Regions from separate parts of the Homo sapiens genome. Here all the other regions are linked to region 4. The links are contacts of gene promoters, found by promoter capture Hi-C in human tissues and cell types (Jung and others, 2019). All regions are on one chromosome and are shown on one strand. The core of a region is centred on a gene start or on the middle of the fragment in contact, and the rest is flanking DNA. Distances in the headings are between cores, read along the strand shown. Region 1 has its middle 23 kb from the start of SLC7A2. Region 2 has its middle 39 kb from the start of MTMR7. Region 3 overlaps MTMR7 (myotubularin related protein 7). Region 4 holds the start of MTMR7 (myotubularin related protein 7).

Region 1 (5,291 bases), core at 533-3,032, 60 kb after region 4:
ATCAGAAAGAAGAGCAAAATGTTCAAACTTCACCTGAGAAAGAAAAGCAAAACGTTCAGACTCCATCTGAGACAGAATAGGAAATTTTTACAATTTCAGAAAAGAAACTCAATCCTTAATGAAATATCCTGTGTATTAATTTTTAGTTCCTGGCAGTAGAAATGTTATTGCCGGTGTCAGAGACCACTGACAGAAAAACCCAGAGATCTATCATGTTTCAGGATTAACAATCACCATTAAAGAAAGGTAATTCCCAGTGTATTTCTAGTTTTCATCACTTTAAGCAATTTTCGTGGAACTTTTCTCTTTGTTTTTTTTTCTGAGCAAAGACACGACTTGTGGATGGGGTGGGGGTGTGTGTGTGTGTGAGCTTGCTCGGTCTCAATTCCAAGCCCTCTTCCTGTCCCTACTGTGCCCATGGAAAATGGGAACCCACAAATCGCAATTCTTTGCCAGTCCTCTCCGTATTCATTTCTGTCAATAGAGGAACGAGAGAGACTGGAAACCTAAGCGAACAGTTTGATTCCTGTTTATGTCAGTGCTGCCACAGTAACAGCTTTCACCTTGGCAGCAACAGTAGCTTTCAGTCTCTGCATTATTTTTTGTATATATTTAGGAACTCCCAGAACCAACAGTATTGCCAGCCCCAGAGATACTAGCACAGCTACAAACAGCTTACACTCACAGTTCTGAGTCCCCGGTCTTTGAGCCCTACACCAAATTTCAGAGGTTACAACCCCAAGTTGGCTGGACCCACTCCTCCAAGGTTGGAGTCCTAGAACCAGGGGACCTTTTCCAAAGCTTTAGGTTCCAATAACTCCAATCTTTTCCATTTGATCTCCACTCTAGTCATGAGAGCTACATCTTGTTAGTAATTCGTGGCTATCTCAGTGGTGTGGTTTCCCATTTTCTGTCTGAAGTCTACGTGATACAGTGCCTACCTTGGTAAAGCAGAGAACAGAGGAAGGAGTCAGATCTCAGAAAGCTTGGAATTTTTCTCACTATCCCCTTCAATTTCTTCAAAATCTAAAAAGAGCTTATTAACACTTGCCACTCAACTCCTTTGGAACTTTGATTATAAAATACGATAAAGAAGATGCTTACAATTCTATGTAGGATGTAATAAATTTTAGCAAATCATGTTTCCCCTAGGTTAAAAAAAATGGGGAAATCCCAATTAAACTTTAAAAATCATATTTTAAAGCCATCAGAGAGCTGTAGCAACAAGGAGGACTAGAGGAACTAAATTTCAGGCATGGAAAGCAATTGTGAAACGAGTTGAGTATTGCCAGCTGTTTCTTCCTCTGGTTTGCTTGCTGATGTGGGATATGAAGTAAGGATTAGGCTTAGCCCAGTCCGAGGACCTCTGCCGAGAGAAAAACCCACCAATCCTCTTAATTGCTACACAGGATTAAATTCAAACATTAGACATTTTGGAACCTTCAATTTGTAACCATTTCCCCCCAACTCACATTTGCTGAATTTGAGGGCGTTGTGGGATGCTGGTGAGCTAGCTTGCATTTTCTCAAAAAGACTAGTTAGCTAAAATCATGTTATATTTTGGACACAAGACATAGGTTTGTCTCCAGCATATGTACTGTCTCTTTAAGATGCTTCTCTGATTTTGAACTTTCTTTAGCAAAAGGCTGGACAGCTGGGGTGGAAACTTTGAGTGATAGTGATTCGTCCCCAACATCTTTCAAAGCTGAGGAAATACAGTCAGGTAGACTCCTAGTTGAGGATCTAGCAGACCCACGTCTGAGCAGTATTAAAAAAAGAGAATTAGTCCAAGCGTTAATAAAAAACTCATTTACCGGTGACCTGGTTCAGTCCATGACTGGTTTAGGTAATCATCTCCTCATGCTATCTTCCTAACAGGAGAAAGAGGAGAAAATCTCTAGTGAAGACACCTAGAGCTTCTGCAGTTTTTTTCTACACAACTTCCTGCATATAATAAAACATTTCTATTTACGCTAACAGTAAAATAATTATTACCTGTTATTAGAGAAAAAGGAAAAAAAGAAGAAGGAGAAATTTTTAATAGCATCAAGATAATCCAGACAGGGGAGCAAAAGTACATGAAAAAATGACTATGATAAATACATTTCAAAAAAAGAGAAAAATGTACAAAATGTAAGAGAGAATGTAGAGTTTCCTCAGTGAATTGGAAATTATCAAATGGGTATTTTGGAACTAGAAATTACAATTTATTATAAGAACTCAGTAGATGAATTGAACAGTAGATTGTACCAGTCAGATTACAGAATTAAGCGGAAGACAGGCCAATGAAAAAATCCCCACCCCAAAGCACACAGAAAAAAAGCATAGAAATAAGAAAGCAAGAAGTTTATGGAATACATGAACAGTTCTAAGAACCCTAATATTGGTGTTCCAGAGAAAGCAAAAAGAGATAATTGAATAGAAATAATATTCAAACAGCTCTTTGTTGGTAATTGTTTCAAAAAGGAGAAAATATTGCCTTCCACTGCTTGATAATGGGCCACATATTTCTCAGAGGCTCTTTGAATTTTTCTTTTTCTTGTTTCTTTCCTTTCTCCAGATTGTGTCCTCTCTAATAACCTATCTTCTAGTCTGTTTGTTCTTTGTTCTGTCTGTTCAAATCTTCTATTCTCCTCTATGAAACTTTTTACTTTGGTTATTACAGTTTTAATTTTAGGAATTTCCATTTAGTTCTTTGATACATACAATTTCTGTCTCTTCATTGATATTGAAGGTGGCTTTTTGTATAGCATACCTTTGATAAGAAGCTGTGTTTGAACGTCTTGAGTCAGTGAGGAATTTATTCATTAGTTCTAACTTGTGTGTGTATGTGTATTTAATTTTTGAGTTTTGTACATATATGATCATGTTGTCTGCAAAGAGAGATTATTTTAATTCTTCCTTTACAATTCAGAAGGCTTTTATTTCTTTTTCTCATCTAATTGCACTGGCAAGGACTTCCAGTACTATGTTGAATAAAAATGAATAGTGCGAACATCCTTTTCTCATTTCTAATTTTAGAAAACAAGCTGCCATGTTTCATCATTAAGTGTAATGTTAAGTTCCAGTTTTTTCATATATGGCCTTTATTATAGAAGGTAAATTCCTTCTATATATAATGTGTTGAGAGGTTTTATCATGAAAGGGTGTTGAATTTTGTCAAAAGCTTTTTCTGTATCCATCAAGATGATCAGGTGGTTTTTATCTTTCACTCTGTTAATCTGATACATCACATTGATTGATTTGCATACGTTGAACCATCCTTGCATCTTAGCAATGAATCACACTTGATCAGAGTGTATGATCATTTTTAAGTGGTGATGAATTAGAATTGGTAGTATTTTATTGAGGATTTTTGCATGTAAGTTCATCAGAGATACTAGCCTGTAGCATTCTTTTCTTGTGGTGGCTTTGTTTGTCTTTGATATAAGGGTAATGCTGGTCTCATAAAATGAGTTTGGAAGTGTTCCTTCTTTTTTCACGTTTTGGAAGAGTTTGAGAAGGATTGCTGTTAATATTTTAAATGTTTCATGGAATTTATCAGTGAAGCCACCTGGTCCTAGGCTTTTCTTTGTTATGAAAACTTTTTGAATACTCATTCAATCTCCTTATTTGTTATCAGTATCTTCCAACTTTCCAATTCTCTTGATTCAGTCTTGATATGTTTCATATTTCTTGCAATTTATCCATTTTTTCTAGGTTATCTAAATTGTTGATGTATAGTTCGTAATAGCTCCTTATGATCTTTTTAATTTCTGAGGTAGCCATTGTAATGTCTTTTCTTTCATTTCTGATTTTTTTGAGTCCAGATAGACTATCCATTATTATAAGTGGAGTATTGAAGTAGTCTCATATTATCATTTTTCTGTCTATCTATAGATAGATAGACAGATCTATCAATATTTGCTTTTTATTTTTAGGTGTTCTGATATTCGCTGTATATACATTATTATATCTTCCTGCTGATTTGACCCTTTTATCACCATACAATTTTTTTGACCCTAGTAACAGTTTTTGAAGAAAAGTCTATTTTCTATGATACAAAAATATAACCACTCCTGCTTTATTTTGGTTACCAATGGCGTGGGATATTTTTTTCCATTTTTTCTCTGTCAGTTTATCTGTGCCTACACCTAAAGTGAGTCTCATAGAAAGTGTATCTCTTGATCTTGTATTTTATCCATTTAGAGACTCTCTACTTTTTGACTGGGCAGTTTAATGTATTTACATTTAAATTAATTATTAATATATAAGGACTTACTAGTGTCATTCAGTTGTTTTGCAGCTGTTTTGTTTCTCTCCTCTCTTGTTGTCTTCCTTTTGTATTTGATGATTTATGTAATGATTTTCCTTTTTTCTCATTATCATTTGTTTATATGTCACAGTTTTTTGTGGCTATCATGAGGTTTGCATAAATATCTTGTAATTGTGTTATAACCACCTACATAAATTTATAACAACTTCAATCACATTTAAAAAACTCTACATTTCTGCTTCACCCACCCAGTCTATGTTATTGCAGTTAGAGTTCACTTCCTTTTATATTGCATATCCATGAACAAATCGTATAGTTATAGTTATTCATAATACTTTTGTCTTTTAACTTTTATATTAGAGTTAACATTAGTTTATGCACCATTATTACAGTGTTATGTTACTACATATTTGTCTATATATTTACCTTTACCTGCGAGATGTATGGTTTCATATGCCTATGTATATGATATTTAGCATGTTTTTATTTCAATTTTAATAACTCTCTTCAGCTTTGCTTGTAAGGAAGGTTTAGTGGTGATGAATTCCATCAGTTTTTGTTGTCTGGGAAATATTTTATCTCTCTTTAATTTTAAAAGGATAGCTTTTCCAGGTATAGTATTTTTGATTGGCATTTTTTTTTTTCATTCAGTACTTTGAATATATCATCCCACTCTCTCTTGGACTCTCTCCCACTTTCTCAGGAGAAATCCACTGATAATCTTATGGAGGTTCCTTTCTATATGAGGAGTTGCTTTTCTCTTGTTGCTTTCAAAATTCAAAAACCCTGTGTGGGGTCCTTCAGGCTTCTTGAATCTGAATGTCTATTTCTTTCTCCAGATTTGAGAAGTTCTCAGTCACTATTTCTTTCAGTAAGCTTTCTGCTCCTTTCTCTCTCTTCTCCTTTGGGAAGTCCATTATGCGTATTCTGATTTTATTTATCACGTCACGTAAGTCCCATGGGCTTTCTTCCCTCTTTTTTATTTTTTTGTTTCTTCTCTGAATAATTTCAAATGACCTGCCTTTGAGTTTACTAC
Region 2 (6,043 bases), core at 3,215-5,714, 41 kb after region 4:
GGGGTATAAGCAAACTGTAAGCACGCACGGAGACAAAAATAAATGTAGTATATTGGCAAAGGCTCAAGGCTCAGAAGATAGTCTTTGAAACTTCTGGTATGACTTTCAAGCTTTCCCTGTAAACAGAAAACATTAATATTTGCAATTCTTTATAGTAATAAGCAGTTGCTCCCTGGAGAAAAGTACAGAAATTCTAAGTGTTATTCTTATCTATTTTTTTCTTCATTAAGCCAGTTGCTGTAATTGATTTTTAGATATACAGAAAAAAGTCTTTAAATCTTACCGTATACTTTCCTATAAAGAGTTTGACTTGAGTTAAAATCATGTCTCTTCATATATGGGGCTGCCATTCTTTTTCCTGAAACACAAAAAGATTCTAGCATTTCTATATCTGTGTTTCCGTGCACATGAGTGTTTTGCTGTCTTCCTTTTTTTTTTTTTTTTTGAAACAGAGTCTCACTCTGTTTGCCCAGGCTGGAGCGCAGTAGCGCAATCTCGGCTCACTGCAATCTCTGCCTCCCGGGTTCAAGTGATTCTCCTCCCTCAGCCTCCCGAGTACTGGGATTACAGGCGCATGCCACCATGCCTAGGTAATTTTTGTATTTTTAGTAGAGTTGGAGTTTCACCATGTTGGCCAAACTGATCTCGAACTCCTGACCTCAGGTAATCTGCCCACCTCGGCCTCCCAAAGTGCTGGGATTACAGGTGTGAGTCATCCAGCCTGGCCTCTTCCTTATTTTTTTTAAATATAAGTGCATATATTACACATAAATATTATATATGATATATAATACACATATATTAAACACACGTATAATATGTAGTACATATATATGACATTTGTGTGCAATATATACACATACATATGTACAAACATATGAAAAATAGAGCTGTATTAAAATTATACTTTAAGTAAATCACCAGACAAACATTATTGGCTACTGGAGGCTTATGGAAATAATCATCTAATAATAATGTACGAAATGTGTTTTCTCATTCCACATTCCAATTATTCCTACATATATCATTTCCCCTGGAAATGAAAGTAGAGATATACTGGGAAAAGATATTCACACATGCATGTCCTGATTAGGGCAGGAAGTAACTGACAAATCTCAGGAGAGCCTTTCTTGCAACCCCGCCAGGCCATTTGCATGGATTCCAGATGTTTATGGGCTTGTTAGAAACTTTGAATTGTTATCTGAACGACGACCCTGACACTAAGCACTGTCTCCCCGTTGCTTCACTCCTTACTCCCCGCTAGATTTGACTTGCTGTGTCTTTATACCAGAGACTGAAAGAAGAAAAGAAAAACCTAAGCCCACCCATTACTCTGGCAAAACTTTTAATCAAAACACTCCCATCGATTTCCTAGCTTTCTCCTTCAACCAACAAAGAAAGGTAAGAGATCACTTTTCCAAAGCTTTCGAAATATCAATTCTAGTTTTCAAATCTTATTCTGCTCAGAAGCCCACGTTAATATTTGAGCATGGATGTACTTTCTCCCCAAGACAGAACACGAGGCTGGAAGACACCCCAGGAGGAGGAGCCATGCTCCATGGAGTCCTCCCGGCTTCCCAGCCTCCTGCCTCTCCGCTCTCTCAACCCAACCTATCACAGCGTGGACAGCAGTGAAATATTTTCCACATTATCCGAGTAAGAGAAGGGCTTTTCTTTTCTTCTGTATTGCAAATCAAAGAGAAACTCCCTTTCCTTGACATATTCTCTGGGTACATTTTTTTAACTTTTATTTTAGATTCAGGGGTACACGTGCAGTTTTCTTATATATAACTCATGTCATGCGGGTTTGCTATACAGATTATTTCGGCACCCTGGTACTAAGCATAGGCCCTAAGAGTTATTTTTTCCTGCTCCTTTCCCTCCTCCCACCCTCCACCCTCAAGAAGGCCCCAGGGGCTGTTGTTCCCTTGTATATGTCCATGAATTCTCATCATTTAGCTCCCACCTGTAAGTGAGAACATGTGGTATTAGTTCTATAATGAAAGGCAAACAGTCGCAGGTAAGGAAAACAATGCTGGGAAACAGAAGCAAATTTGATAATTTGCATAAGCCAGTCCACCCTTCTTCTGAGGCTGGTGATGCATGGTGACTGCATGTGGCCTGAGCTTTCTCTTCCTTTGAAATGTTACTCCTTGCACTGGTATGTCATCCCTGTGACTGCAGTTGGTCCCTTAACCACGTGTAGAACCTTGTCTGGTGGCGGGTGGTTCTGTTCCATTGTGAGGTTCACTTTCAGTCTAAGGGCTCGTTTTCACTCATTGATCTCCGTACGCAGGGCCACTGAAAGAGCATCACGTAGCAAAGCTTTTCAGGAAATTTGTGTCACAGGACGTTTAACTCTGTTAGGGAGAGTTGGCAATGATTATTGGAGTCCAGTTATATGGAAAATCAGCACAGTTACCCACCCATTATCCAGTTTTCTAGGGGGAAGTGTTAGGGGGAAAATAATTGCTTAATAAGAGTAAAACTTGTATTACAGAAGAAAATAGTGCACTTTATTAATAACATTTAATAGATAATATGTAGTCTTTCATGTTCAGAAATGGCCATTTTCTAACTATCCTTTTCTAATAACAAGTCATTCTGTCCAGTCTTCGTGACAAGATAGTTGTTTCTAGGAAGAATCAGTAGATTGCAGTGGTGTTTTTTTCCCCCAACCAATGATTTCCGCAAAATCTAGGGTTTTTTTAACCTCTGGAAAGCTATTTAAAAACATTAAGGAATTATTTTTGATCTCCTACTGCGTTATGGCTCTTGTTAGATGAAGCCAAGCAGAAACTCATTAAAGACCAATATATTCCATAAGTGAAGTAACTTACTTTCTAGACATGTCTAGTAAAATCATCTAAACTCTGGAGTAGGAGAAACCTGGTTACCTAGCAGAATCAGCAGCAAGCTGAAGTAATATGAAAAAAGGAGTCTGAAAATAGGAAAGAAATCTCTCCCGGCATCTCAAAGTCGGTAAAACTACAAGCACTTCTAGGCATTCCCTGTTTCAGAAGGCAGGGATTGAGGGGGAACATGCGATGTAGATTCAAAAGGAAAGTCTATCAAAATGCTCTAAGAAAGGGGGCAGCGGAGTTTAAATCACAACGGAAGACCCAGAGGCAAACCTGAAGTGATGTTCATTTAGTTTTGCTTTGAGTCTCAATTTTTACCTTTGTCTTGTGTCTCATTTCTCTAAGCTTTAAATCAGTGACCACTTTGTGTAATGTGCTGGACTCACACACAATAACATCCAAGTCAGAGACCTAAATAAATAAATTGAAAACAATTCAACAAAATCTGTTCCTGGAGAGCTGAACCTGAGCAGCCCCCATGAAGTCTCACTGGCTGTAGGTATCCAGAGGTGTTTGTTCTGTCCCACAGGAAGGAAGCCAGTGTGTCCTGAGGGCATGTCCTGAGGGCATGTCCCTGGCACTTAGGTTGAACAAAGCTGAACACTGTGGGTGGATAAAGGTTAATCAGGTGGTGGGAAGTCAGGGAGGTGGGGAGGAAAAGCTACAAAGAGAATCAATGGTTGGAAAGCAACGCAGCAGGTAAAAGTTGAAATATCAAAGAAGATGAGGTTCAGGGACCTTGCAAAATCTACAGAGAATAGAGACAAACTTTGAAATGAGTTGCAGTAGGACTGGAGCATAAGGAACAGAATCCAGGAAAGTGTGGAAACTAAGAGGAAACTGAGGGAGACATAGGTTCTGTATGGACATAGCAGTGCAGGTAGGAGCAGTGGTTATTGACCTCCAGTAATGACAGTCACAGTTGGGGTCTGTATGTTTATTATAAGTAGACTCCAGGTCCAAAGGTATTAGGAATTGGTAGAATGCCTTTTGGCCCAAGGGACTGAGGACCTATGGACTTTGCTTTTTCAGGTCGTACTATTAGAGCACTAGGGTCCTTTCTAATTTCTGTTCAGTGCCACCTGCAACTTCTTTTTTTCCTTTTTCTTTTTTTCTTTTTTTTTTTTTTGAGACAGAGCCTCATCTGTCACCCAAGCTGGAGTGCGATGGCATGATCTCAACTCATGGCAACCTCCACCTCCAGGTTCAGGCTTGCAACTTCTGAAGAGGGTTGAAAAGTCCACAAAGATTAGGGAGGAAAAGAATATGACGTCATGTCTGTCAAAGAGTTTGCTATTTAAGGGCTTTGGATCTCACGGTGTCTCATGCCTGTAATCCCAGGACTTCAGGAAGCAGAGGTGGGCATATCACCTGAGGTCAGGAGTTCGAGAACAGCCTGGTCAACATGGTGAAACCCTGTCTCTACCAAAAATACAAAAAAATTAACTGGGTATGGTGGTGGGTGCCTGTAATCCCAGCTACTCAGGAGGCTCAGGCAGGATAATTGCTTGAATTTGGGAGGCAGATGTTGCAGCGAGCTGAGATTGTGACACTGCACTGCAGCCTGGGTGAAGGAGCAAGACTCTCACAAAATAAAAAAAATAAAAAAATTAGAAAAAAAGGCTTTGTATCTAAGCACTTGGTGGTTCTCCAACTTTTATGTGTATGAGAGTCACAGTGGTGGGGAGTGGCAGGAGATAGTTTAAAATACAACCAATCCAGAGATGCTGTTTCAACAGATCTGGGGTAAGAACCCAGGAATCTGTGCACATAATCAGAGCTGTAGGCCATTCTGATCGGGCCAGTAGCTGACACACACGCAGCGTGGTGCCAATGAGAAAAAGGTGCCTCCGGTGGGTGGACCAATTTAAGAGCCCTTATTTCTCAGGTTTCCCCACAGTCTTGCCAATGAGAACCTTTTGGCCATCAGGGCTGGTAAAATTTCAGTCCCACTCCTCCCTACTTGGCTGGGCAGACTACAACCTCTACAGCCTCCCTCGGTGGTCCTGATCCTTTAAAGGTGTTCTTTGAACCTACTTTAATTCATCCTAAACTGCCCTGATGACAACAGTGTCCCAGTAGCTTAAGGAATGAGAGGACCGGCTGGGCGCAGTGGCCTATGCATGCAATTTCAGTACTTCGGGGAGCCGAGGTGAGAGGGTTGCTTGAGACCAGGAGTTCAAGACCAACCTGGGCAATATAGCGAGACTGCATCTCTAAAAATAAAAATAAAAAATAAAAAATAAATTAGCTCGATTCAGTGGCTCACACCTGCAGTCCCAGCTACTCAGGAAGCTGAGGCCGGAGGATTGCTTGAGCCGGTGAGGCCAAGGCTGCGGGGCGTTATGATTGTGCCACTGCACTCCCGCCTGGGTGACAGAGCTTGACCCCATCTCAAAAAAAAAAAAAAGAGAGAGAGAGAGAGAAGTCCCTGGGTACCACTTTAAGCCTATCAAATAAGACTCTTCAAAGGCCCAGATTGAGAATTAGTAATTTTAATAAGTGTCTCGGTCAGACCCTTGGGAAGCACCGATTTTAAAGGGTGGTAAAACACTAACGCAACCTTTCTCCTTGGTGTGTTCTCTCTGCCTGGGGAAATCAGAGGCATCTTTCTACTCCAGATCCCATTCCTTCCCAGAATGGAATAGAAAGACATAATAATATGGACAGAAAGAGCAGACTTGAAAAATATTTATGAAGGTCAAAATGCAGTGGAAAAATATAATCCAAAACAAGATACATGTGTTCATGGAAGAAGAAATTGGGAATATTTTCTTGTAGTTTTAGGCTTAACCAGCTGTAATTGCTGGATTGGCACCTACAGTGCCTCTTTCCACTTGCCACACTGTGCAAGGTGATAGATGAAATAAATTCAAACTTTTTCATGTCACCATACCTACGGATGTTGAACACTTTCAGCTTATCTGCTATTATTTTTGCTGTAAGCTTATCTGCTAATAAACTTATTAATTAAAGAATAGGTGTCTCACCGTTTTGCCTTTCATTTTATAAAATAATACCAAAAAGATCTACCAGGAAAGAGCAAAAGTAAGTCTGAATAAAAATGTTAGAGGGCCTGGCACAGTGGCTCATGCCTGTAATCCCAGCACTTTGGGAGGCTGAGGTGGATGGATTGCATGATGTCAGGAGTTTGACACCAGCCTGGCCAACATGGTGAAACT
Region 3 (5,830 bases), core at 60-2,559, 60 kb before region 4:
GATTTCTGCCTTCCCCAGAGCACTGGGTCTAGGGGAAAAAGCTCCATGGGTCACAGCTTAAGTTATAAGGCATTCTGATGAGTACTTGCTCGGGGAACTCTAAGAAGCTAGAATGCATTTGAGAAAAGCAGATTTAGGGTGTCAGTTAACACGGGAAGATACAACCTCTTACCAAGCTAGAAGCATGGATATTTGTCCTGCTTTCATCAAAGTAGACAGCACTCTCAAGTGGAAATTAAAATAACAATCCTACCTTGAAAATATAAAACACCACTGAAAGGAATTAAAGACACAAGTAAATGGTAAGATACCTGTGTTCATGCACTGGAAGACTTAATATTGTGAAGATGTCCATCCTACACAAAGCAACCACAAGGCAATCCCTATCAAAATCTCAAGGGCATTTTGTGCAGAAGTAGAAAAATTCATCCTAAAATTTACATGGATTCTCCAGGGACCCCAAATAGCAAAAAACGATTTTGAAAAAGAACAAAGAGGACTTACACTTCATAATTTCAAAATATAGTACAAAGCCATATCTATTTTGCAGCAATCAAACAGTGTGGTACTGGAATAAAGACAGACAAATAGGCCAATGGAATAGAGAACCCAGAAGTAAACCCTCATGTATATGGTCATATGATCCATAGCATGGGTGCCAAGACTACTCAATGGGGTAAGATTAGTCTCTTCAACAGATGGTACTGGGAAAACTAGATACCCACATGCAAAAGTAAAATAAAATAACGATGGGTCATATCTTGTACTATATAAAAAAATTAACTCAAAATGGACTAAAGACCTAAACATAAGACCCAAAAGTATTAAACTCCTAGAAAAGAACATAAGGGACAAGCTTTATGACATTGGAGTTGGCACTGATTTATTATGTATGACAGCAAAAGCAGAGACAACAAAAGAAAATACTAGACAAATGGAACCATATCAAACTTAAAAACTTTTATACATCAAAGGACACAATCAAAAGTGAAAAAGCAACCTACAGAATGTGAGAAGCTATTAGTAAATTGCGTATCTTAGGGAAATCAAAATCAAAACCACAATGAGATGCTAACTCACAATTGTTAGGATGGCCACTATTACAAAATGAAAGAATGAAAACATAATAAAACTAGTACTGGTGAGCACTCAGATAAATTGAAACCCTAGTGCACTGTGGATGGGGATATAAAATTATGTAACCACTATGGACAACAGCATGGAGGCTCTTCAGGAATTTAAAAATAGAATTCCTACATGATCCAGCAATCTCACTTCTGGATGTATGCCCAAAGGACTTGAAAGCAGAATCTCCAAGAGATACTTGCACAACCATATCCGCAGAGCATTATTCACAGCCAAGAGGTGGAAGCAACCCAGATGTCCATCAAGTGATGAATGGATAAGCAAAATGTGGTATATCATTACAATGAAATATTATTCAGCCCTAAAAAGGAAGGAAATCCTGTTACATGCTATAACACAGATGAACCTTGAGGACATTAAATGACATAAGCCTGTCACAAAAAGAAAATACTGTATGATTCCACTTATATGAGGTATCTAAAGTAGTCAAATTCATAGAAACAAAAAGTAGAATGATGGTTGCCAGGGGCTGTGGTAGGTGGGAATGGGGAGTTGTTTAATGGGTATAGAGTATCAGTTCTGGAGTTGAAAAGTTCCAGAGATCTATTATAGTACAAGAATGTCAATCTACTTAACACTCCTAAACTATACCTTAAAAATGACTAAGATGGCAAACTTTACGTTATGCATTTTTTAAATCACAATGAAAAAAGAAAAGGGAAAACAATCTTAGCATTGACTGCTGCCATTTTTGCAACAAGCTCACAGAGTTGTAGTCAAAACTCTGACAATACATAATGCGCACAATGATGCAACATATGTCGCTAATTTTCAAACACCTCAGTATGCCTCTCAGGATTTTGTCTGGTTTGGAAAACCACCTGACAAAATTCAGAGAGAATATGAGAAGTTCAGAGGAATGGAAAATGTTTTTCTCCTGAATTTTCTTTACATGCACTCTGCCTTAGTTAATGAAAGTGGATTAGTCAGTTAATCACTTTGCCATTTTTTAAAATGAATAAGGAAACCGATTTTCTTTGTGCTCCACTAAATTAATTGACCTTCCTGGAGTGCCCACATCCCTTGGTGCTGTCCTGGCAAGGGGAATCTTTTGGTAACTCTTTCACTCATTCAACAAGCTTTTACTGAGTACTTACTATACGCCAGGCATTACTCTCAGCTGCAAGAGCAGAAATGAGTAAGAGTTTTTGGCCTTGAAGATTTCACACTCCCAGGACAGCTGATCTTTGTTAACCAAGTTAGAATCTTCCAGTAAATATATTTATCACTGCAGGCTACTAGCCATCTAAGATGCAATCCAAAAGTGTCACTCAGCCCTCCAAGGACCAATCATTCATCTGAGCACTGTAGGGTAAGAGTTGTCAGAAACTGAGAGATATCTATACAGACAATCTTCTTAAACATTTCAGTGCTAAAATTTATTTCAAGGAATTTATGATGAACAGGGAGAAGGAGGAGGTTATGAACAGGATAAAATGACATATATGTGAATAAAACAAAATAATGCATGATACATAAAATATAGCTGTGGAGAACTGAAATAAATGAGCTTTAATAAACTGACTGGTTTGGGTTGTATTTTATATTTTATTCCAAGAGAGTTAGATTAAAACTTTAACCTAGCAATGAATACAAATTACTTTATTTAAATAAAGACAATTTCAAGGGTTAGGTAAAAAAAGAAATCTGAGCTTAGAGACTTAGACTACCATAAGCAAGTGTCTTATAAATAGCGATGGTGGTAAGATGATACAGATAATAGTAATAATTAGCCTGCCCAAGGCCAAAGAAAATAGCAGAATTGGTTCTAGAATCTAAGTTTTGTATTCTACGTCTGCTGTTATTTCCACCATCGACAATTGTTTCTTTTCCATCAAATGACACTTCCTGACCCACCGACCTCAAAGGATTTGTGAGAAGAAATAAGATAAGTTGTCAAACAAGAGAGGAAAAAGTAAACGTTTTCTCAGCCATGGGGTCAAAAGCAAAAGGAATGGATTTGGATATCTCTCTCTCCATGGATTATTAGTCAAAAATTTTCTGAAATAAGACAACTTGTGTTCTCTTGCTAAGTTAGTGACAAATCAGGATACATCATCTTCCTCCCATTTCGGTGATATTTGCAAAATCAGAAAATCCCCTAGGTTTTTACCTTTTCTGCTTCAAAACAGTTTGTTCCTTGTTAGTTTTGTTTTGCTGTTAGTTTTGTTTTGCTGTGTGTTGCTTCTGAAAAGAAATGCTGAGTAACTCATGTTTTGCAGGCTGTGCAACGTAGGACTTAAGTGACTATATATGAGTCATGTTTATGCGCTAATTCTAGAAGGAAATCTCATCAAAAACAGAAGAACCTGTATTTCCAAGGAGACGTTATTCCACAAGATGTGGTTCAGTCTCATTTTCTTCCTTGCCCAAGGATGTGTCATATTAACAAAAAGAGTATCCAATTTTCTTTACTAAACTTGGATTTTCCTTTCTTTCAAGGCTAAAAATTCACTGCAAAAGTTAGCTTTAGTATGAGAACAAATTAGTCTGATTACATGAGTCAGATACTTTATAATAATTAACTTTATGGTTGTTAAATTTAAGTGTAATTAAGAGGAAGATTCAGTGTCATGGAAGTGTCCATTCTAGCCCAAATAATCCATAAATTCAAGATATCCTGATGAATTATGTCAAAGAACTGACTTTTAAGTATCAAGATTATAAAGCCATAATAATCATAACTGGTAAAAATATAATTGTGGGATTTATACAGCGTCAAATTGGGACAAAGTTTAGCAAACAGACCAGGATTAAAAAATTAAAAAAAAAAACAGTATGCTAAAAGACAAAACATGGTAAGAAAGATTGACAACTCAAAACTTCTGAAGAAACTTGGAACAGTGTATCAGAATCTCCTGAGACAAGATATCTGCAAGAGCTATAAATTATAACAAATTATTGGCTACATTATATAAAGAACTACAACAAGAAAACAACAAATAATCTTATAGAAAAAAGAGCAAAAATGTGAGTAGATAATTCACAGAAGAGTCAACATGAACAGCCAAGAAACACAAGCTTAACCTCACTAGTCAATCAGGTCAATGCAAAAACCACATCGAGATCCAATTCATACCAATCAGTTTGGCTCAAAGTTAAGACCAGTTAATAAATCCACATGGTTATATAAATGAAACAATACCAAAAGGTGCATAAAATGCTACAAATAAAAGCAAAGGAACAACAATGCTAAACTGCATCCAGTGGTGCTGGAGCAGGAGAAGAAATCCCACTTTCATCCTTGTGTCCTATCCACCCCATTACCAACACCACTCTAGGTTATCACTTTTGGGCAAACGTGTTATTATTCTCCCTCCTTTGTTAAGCCAAAAGGTATTATACTATATTCACCATATTGTGTCTTGCTTTTTCTAACCTAACAATATATTTTAGCAATTTTTATCAGTACATAGGAACCTTCCACATTTCCTTTAATGGTTACAAACTAACTTAATCATACGGATAGAGCAAAAATTATTTAGCTGGCCCCCATTCCAAGAATTAGGTTCTTGGAAAGTCACAGTTTCCAAGAAACTAATTAAAGATATTTGGGTTTCTTCTAATATTTACTATTATGAAAAACGCTTCAAAAAAATAACCTTGGGGTCCAGGCATGGTGGCTTGCCTGTAATCCCAACATTTTGGGAGGCAGAGGCGGGCAGATCACTTGAGGTCAGGAGTTCAAGACCAGCCTGGCCAACATGGTGAAATACCATCTCTACTACTACTACTAATAATAATAATACAAACATTATCTGGTTGTGGTGGTGGGTGTCTGTAATCCCAGCTACTTGGGAGGCTGAGGCAGGAAAATTGCTTGAACCCAGGAGGCAGAGGTTACAGTGAGCTGAGATCGCCCCACTGTACTCTAGCTTGGGCAACAGAGTGAGGCCCTGTCTCAATAAAATAAAATAAAATAACCTTGGGTATCAGTGTGTGTGTATGCTATTAAATCCACAGAATAAATTCTCAGAAGTGGCACTGTGGGATCAACAAAGAAGAATACCAGCGAATATCACATCAATACCAACCGTCGGGGAGTCTGTGCCGTAATGAGAACTCATATCTTGCAAGCAGGCCAATATGTCCACGCAAACACTTTAGAAAAGAATTTTCCAGAATTTAGTAAAGCTCAAATCTATATACTCTCTAGCTCATAAACTCTACTCCTAAGTAGAAACACAATATACTACAAGACATATACAGCCCACTTAACAGCTTTATTCATGACAACAAAACACAACCAACAAAAGAAAAAAAGAAAGAAAGAGGGAAGGATGAGTAATTTTTAAAACTATGTTATATTTGTGAAATGGAATACAACACAGTAGTGAAAAATGAAGGAATCAGAGCTATCAGTATCAACAGTTACTAATCTCTCTATGCCTTAGACAATTACTTAATCTCTCTGTCATACTTTCTCCATTTGTAAAGTAGAAATAATAATACTACTATACACAGAACTAATATTTGCTAACATTTATCAAGTTTTTAGAACAGTACCTGGCATGTAGTAACTATATACATGTTTCTTAAACGAAATGGATGACAAATACAAATGTTACCATGTTGAGTGAAAAGTCAAACTTCAGAAAACTATATACAGCATATGCAGACCAAGTACAGACAGTATAAAAACATGCAAAACAATACCACATACTACTACAGTAAGTCCTTGCTC
Region 4 (5,471 bases), core at 614-3,113:
AGGTTCTAAATGCTTGTAGAATAAAATAAATGAATAAATGAATCCGATCCATCCAACCTCTGTAATTTCTTATTTTTTTCACCAGCTTTATCCCAAATGTTAATGACTCACCCAATTCAGTAACACTTCAGACAATTTTCCATTTTCCCCCAATTTGTTTCCATTTCCAGATAAATAAGGATTTCTGACTTCAAGTACTGCACTGCTTAGAGGGTATCCATAAACACCAATTTTAAGAGTAAGAACACTGCTTGCAACTCAGGTTCACACGTGACTTTGTACCAGGTGGCTTTGTATATAGAACAGAAAAGGCCTTGACTCCCCCAAATTCATATTCTCTAACAAAGTGGCATCCACTGCCATGTCACTGTATCATTCTTGCTATCAATATCCACAACAGCTATCACTTTTACAAACGGCTCCCTTCATCATGGAAGGAGGAAGAATGCCCTTGGCAAGGGCAGAGTCCATGAGTTAAATTCACCCTTCTGGAATAAATTATTTAGTACCACTTAAACTCTGAAAGCTTTGAGCCACCTATTCTGTGGTTTGTAGCATTGTCTTCTAAGTTTACAATTTCATGATTGTGAAGCGACAACTTAATTCCCTAGTGCAAAATCAATACAATTTAAATTTACTGTCGGAACTGACATTCTCCAGCAAACTAAAAGATTTCTTCTTCCAATGACATGAGATCATTTTAATCTGCTTTTACAAAAAGGTACTCAGGAACTATTCCAAAATTTAGGAATCAATTCTTGCTGGCCATAAAGCAATTGCCCCCACCCCTCTTAAATGTGTGGGATCCCTGGAACCACCTGAGCTATGGCCACTCTGACCTAGCTTTGACCTGTCAGGGGCCTACATTTTGAATGGAAGTTCATCCTGCAAAAACGCAAGGAGCTGTGGTGGTAGTAACAACAGACAGCCAATAGGGTTTTTAAGCATATTCTTTCACTCGTTTAGGGTTTTTATCATGCAGTAACGTCGATCATCATTTTCATTCTAAATTAGATTATCAGTACAACTGAGGAGGAAGATTTGGTACAGCGATCAACGTTTCCAATGTTAATTTACTGGAGTGATCAGGGACCATTTGCTTTTGTTAATTAGCAAAAGCTGGTGTTGTTAAAACACAACAGTGCGTGACGAATCCGTAAGCTGCATCCTTTTCTCTAACGAACAAAACGGACTGGAAAAGGCAAGAACACACCATCATTCAACCTACAATGAATATTGATTATCCGTTCTGTGTAAGGCCCCTTGCAGCTGCTACGCTCAGGATGAGGATGCTGACTGGGAAGGCCGAGCCGGGTGGGCCTGACACCCTAGATTTAACAAGCTTCCAAGCGCAGGAGTCCCTCTGCATTTAGCTCGTTTTCCTTGCACCTGTCACCGAAAGGCTTATTTCCCTTTCAACTACTCTGAGCGGCCAACAGCTAAAAGAGAAAGCCTCGTGCCAGGAGAAAGAAGGGTTGATCTACACCCAGTTACTAGCAGACAACTGAGGTTCCCTCCCGTTCACCCTTGTGTCCACTGCGCTCCCCCAAAACCAAGAGGTCAGACCCAGCAGCAGCTAAGGCTAGGCCTGGGAGGCAGCAAGAGAACGACCGGGCTCGCAGGCACCCCGGGATGCTCAGGCAATGCCTGCTCCTCCCTCGCCCGCGGTCCAGGCTCCGCCGGTGCCCCTCAAAGCAGTCGGCCTCCCGCGCGCTCAGCATCCCTCCTCCTCCTCCCCCATCTCCTCCCGTCCCTCCTCCGCCCGCGCTGGTGTCACCAACCTTGGGCGTACGGATGTGCTCCATGGCTGGCCCACGTCTGCAGGGTCCCGGGCGGGCGCGGCCTCACGCACCTGCGCGCCTCTGCGGCGCGATGGGAGGGGCGCGGGGAGGGGGCTTCGCGCCCGGGAGTGGGCGGGACGCGGTCTTGGCTCCGCCCCCAGGTGTTCCGCGCGCGGCGTGCGGACCCGGGGCTCCCGCGCGGCCCTAGAGAGCCCACCTCCGCGCCTGCGCCCACCTGCGCCGCCGCCGCGACGCGCCTCTGCCTGGGGTTGCCGGGGCGAGGGCTGCTCGCTCTCTCTTAACAGGGGCAGCCGGCGGAGCACTATACGGCCACTGTTCTCCGAGACACAAAGAGGGCCTTGTTTTGGGTGTGGCCTCCTGGAAGAGAGATGGGGAGTACAGGCTGCTCCACACCGTCCCTGGGCTTCCTTCTAGGGCGTCCTGGGATAGCTAGGATTTCAGGGTGGGGCAGAAAAGAAGGCTGCCACAGACACTCTAGACCCAGGACGGTCTTGTAGGCTCAATGTGTGTGTTTCATCCCAGGCGCGGCCGGCATAGCGCTCGGGGTGCGGGTGGAAATAATAGCAGCAGTGTTAGCGCCTTGGTAAGCGCGCTCCTAAGTCAGGCATCTCACATCCACCTGCGACTTCACTGTTGCAGGCGACACTTTTCCCCTGGCACAGTGTTGGGTGCTCATTTGCCCTCTTTATTTAGCTCCAACTGAACTGAGAGATAGAGATACAAAGCATCCATTATGCGGTACCATTTCCCTATTGATGGTATTAACAGTAGTTGGTGCCATTGTTAGCGTTAGGCCTCTTGGGAAAAGCCAAAGAGAGGAAGAACGCCCTCCATTTTTTTTTTCTTGCAGCCCTAAGAGTACAATGCTCCACCATAAGTGAAATTTTATAGAATTCTACATAGTTCTGTTCAATTTTTTCCTCGCTCTTACTCATCTTTCAGGCTGGATTGTGATTTTTTTTTTTTTTCCGTAGAGACTCTGCTTACCGTTTTTTTATCTAATACCTGGACACATTGCAGCCTTCCAGCAAATAATTAATACGGTGTTGAATTTATTTTTAAAATTCCAGATCCCTCTTTCACAGGTCTTCTACCATTTCATCCTCCTACTGCTTTGGGAGGCAATTAGAACAAGTTTACCATTAGTTTACATTATTAGAAGAACTACTCTGGAAAGCCACAGCTGATTCTTTTGGAAGTGAAAAGAACACTTTCGTTGTTGTTGTCACATAAAGCCACTGAACTTTAACGCTGAATTGAGCCTAGCCTATACTATGTTGAAGTGGAAAGGGAATTTGAGAGTCAAAATAATGCACTGTCTCTACCTTTGTGTTTGTGATTTTTTTAAAGAGGGAGTTGGTAATGCCTTTAAAGATCTCTAGGGACACCTAACCATAAGCAAGACCTAAACTACTTGATTGCAAGTTACCAAACGTCTTCTAGAGAATTCTTCTTATGCAACTTTTATCACATAGATAATTCAGTTGCAAATACTTTTGCTAACAGAATTTTAAAATACAACCTTGATTTTAACTGGGCATTTTCCCAAAATCCTGTGATATTCAATGGCCTGAGGAGATTTGAATTCTTATCAAAAACACTTGCAAGACTTTTTCCAGAATACTTATATTTCTCTTGAGGCAAGGCAAACTTCTGATTTGGCAGTGAGACCAAACCCTGTTTCCTTAGGGATGGTATTGCTAATTATTACAAACTCAATACGATCCTATTCAGCGTAATTAAACCCAAATGGACCATATTATAAGTGGAGGAGGGAACACATCTCTGAATAAACTCAGCCTCATCTGGAGTCACTCAGTATGATAGGGTCAGAGCTGCATTTGGGGTTCTGCCTGGCAAAAAGTAAAAGCGGCCTCTCTTCAGGATTTTTATGAACTCAATGATGCAATGTATCAATGTCTCTGTTGGCCTTGCCCTATAACAAAGATGTGGAGGAAAAGCACTCAGTGGATTGCAGTCAGCTCTGCCCTTTTTCTAGCAGCCAAAAGGGAAATTCTAGGGCAGCATGAAAAGAGTGTTTACTCTGTGAACAGTCAAGGCTTTAAAATAGCCTCCTCCCAAAACTGTGAAACTGCTGGAATAAAACATAGGGGAAACTCTTCAAGACATTGGTCTTGGCGAGGATTTTTGGGATAAGAACTCAAAAGCATAGGCAGCAAAGGCAGAAAGAGACAAATGGGATTACATTAAATTTAAAAGCTTCTATACAATAAAGGAAACGACAGAGTAAAGAGACAGCCTACACAAGGGGAGAAAATATTTGCAAACTACGCATTTGCCAAGGGGTTAATATCCAGAATATAAAAGGAATTCAAACAACTCAACAGCAGAAAAACCAAATAGTCTGATTTAAAAATGGGCAAAAAAAACTGAACAGAGATTTCTCAATATGAGACCTACAAATGACTAACAGGTCTATGAAAAAATACTCAGTATCACTAATGATTAGGAAAATGCAAATCAAAACCACAGTGAGCTATCACCTCACCCCAATTAGACTGACTATGATCAAAAAGACTAACAATAACTAATGCTGGCAAGGAGGCAAAGAAATGGGAACCCTTATGCACTGTTGGCAGGACTGTAAATTAGTACAGCCATTATAGAAAACAGTATAGAGCTTCCTCAAAAAATGAAAAATAGAGCTACCGTACGATCCAGCAATCTCACCAGTGGGTATTTATCCAAAGGAAATGAAATCACTATGTTGAAGAAATATCTGCACTCCCATGTTTATTGCAGCACTATTCACAATGGCCAAATATGAAATCAACCTAACTGTCCATCAATGGATGAATAGATAAAGAACATTTTGTAGAGATACATAGTGTAATACTATCCAGCCACAAAGAATGAAACCCTGTCATTTGTGACAATATGGATGAACCTTGAGGACATTATAAGTGAAATAAGCAAGGCACAGAAAGACCCATACCGTGTGATCCCACTCATTTGTGGAATCTTAAAAAGCTGATCTCATGGGCGTCCAGAGTAAAATACTGGCTACCAGAGGCTAGGGAAAATCGGGGAGAGGTGGGTATGTGAAGAGATGGGTCAGTGAGTACAAAATTACAGTTAGATGGAAAGAATAAGTTCTGGTGTTTTATTCCATAGTATGGTGACTATAGTTAACAATATTTTATTGTATATCTGAAAATAACTAGAAAAGAGGACTTTGAATGTTCTCACCACAAAGAAATGATCAATGTTTGAGGTGATGGATATGCTAATTACCCTGATTAGCTCATTACACAGTGTATATGTGTATCAAAATATCACACTGTATCCCATAAATATGTGCAATTATATGTTGATTACATATAAGAATAAAACCTTTTATAATAAAATATTTTAACATTTAAAAATAATTAAAACAGCAAAGTAGTCTCCTGTATTTTGTTCTGCCTTCAGGAAGGCATACAACTCAAGTTCAAGACTGTGTCTTCAGAACACTTATTTCATTTCCTTTTTTTTTTTTTTTTTTTTTTTTTTTTTTTTGAGATGAATCTCACTGTTGCCCAGGCTAGAGTGCAGGGGCACAATGTCATCTTACTGCAAACTCTGCCTCTCAGGTTCAAGCAATTCTGTGCCTCAGCTTCCCGAGTAGCTGGATTACAGGCATCTGCCACCATGCCTAGCTAATCTTTG

Evidence for each region. The method cuts DNA at HindIII sites, captures the fragments that hold promoters and counts their contacts. A contact is called where the count stands out against the background at its distance.
Region 1: a fragment that was not itself captured here is called in contact with the fragment with the promoter of MTMR7 in region 4 in 1 of the 25 tissues and cell types used here (heart left ventricle).
Region 2: a fragment that was not itself captured here is called in contact with the fragment with the promoter of MTMR7 in region 4 in 1 of the 25 tissues and cell types used here (neural progenitor cells).
Region 3: a contact is called between a fragment that was not itself captured here and the fragment with the promoter of MTMR7 in region 4, in 1 of the 25 tissues and cell types used here (adrenal gland).

What each region holds. Positions count from the first base shown.
Region 1 is chr8:17,471,623-17,476,913 of GRCh38, forward strand. It overlaps the pseudogene ADAM24P. Among named protein-coding and RNA genes, the nearest start is that of SLC7A2, 23 kb to the right of the region's middle. The HindIII fragment of the contact is 4,731 bases long and covers 1-4,148 here.
Region 2 is chr8:17,449,479-17,455,521 of GRCh38, forward strand. No RefSeq gene overlaps it. Among named protein-coding and RNA genes, the nearest start is that of MTMR7, 39 kb to the left of the region's middle. The HindIII fragment of the contact is 5,181 bases long and covers 1,875-6,043 here.
Region 3 is chr8:17,351,665-17,357,494 of GRCh38, forward strand. The region is part of intron 4 of MTMR7 (myotubularin related protein 7); the gene reads right to left. All of the region lies in intron 1 of LOC102724838 (a long non-coding RNA gene), which reads left to right. Among named protein-coding and RNA genes, the nearest start is that of MTMR7, 59 kb to the right of the region's middle. The HindIII fragment of the contact is 3,773 bases long and covers 1-3,196 here.
Region 4 is chr8:17,411,488-17,416,958 of GRCh38, forward strand. MTMR7 (myotubularin related protein 7) reads right to left here and starts at 1,864. Exons shown (of 14, transcript NM_004686.5): 1 at 1,782-1,864. The coding sequence starts at 1,805. The HindIII fragment of the contact is 4,025 bases long and covers 935-4,959 here.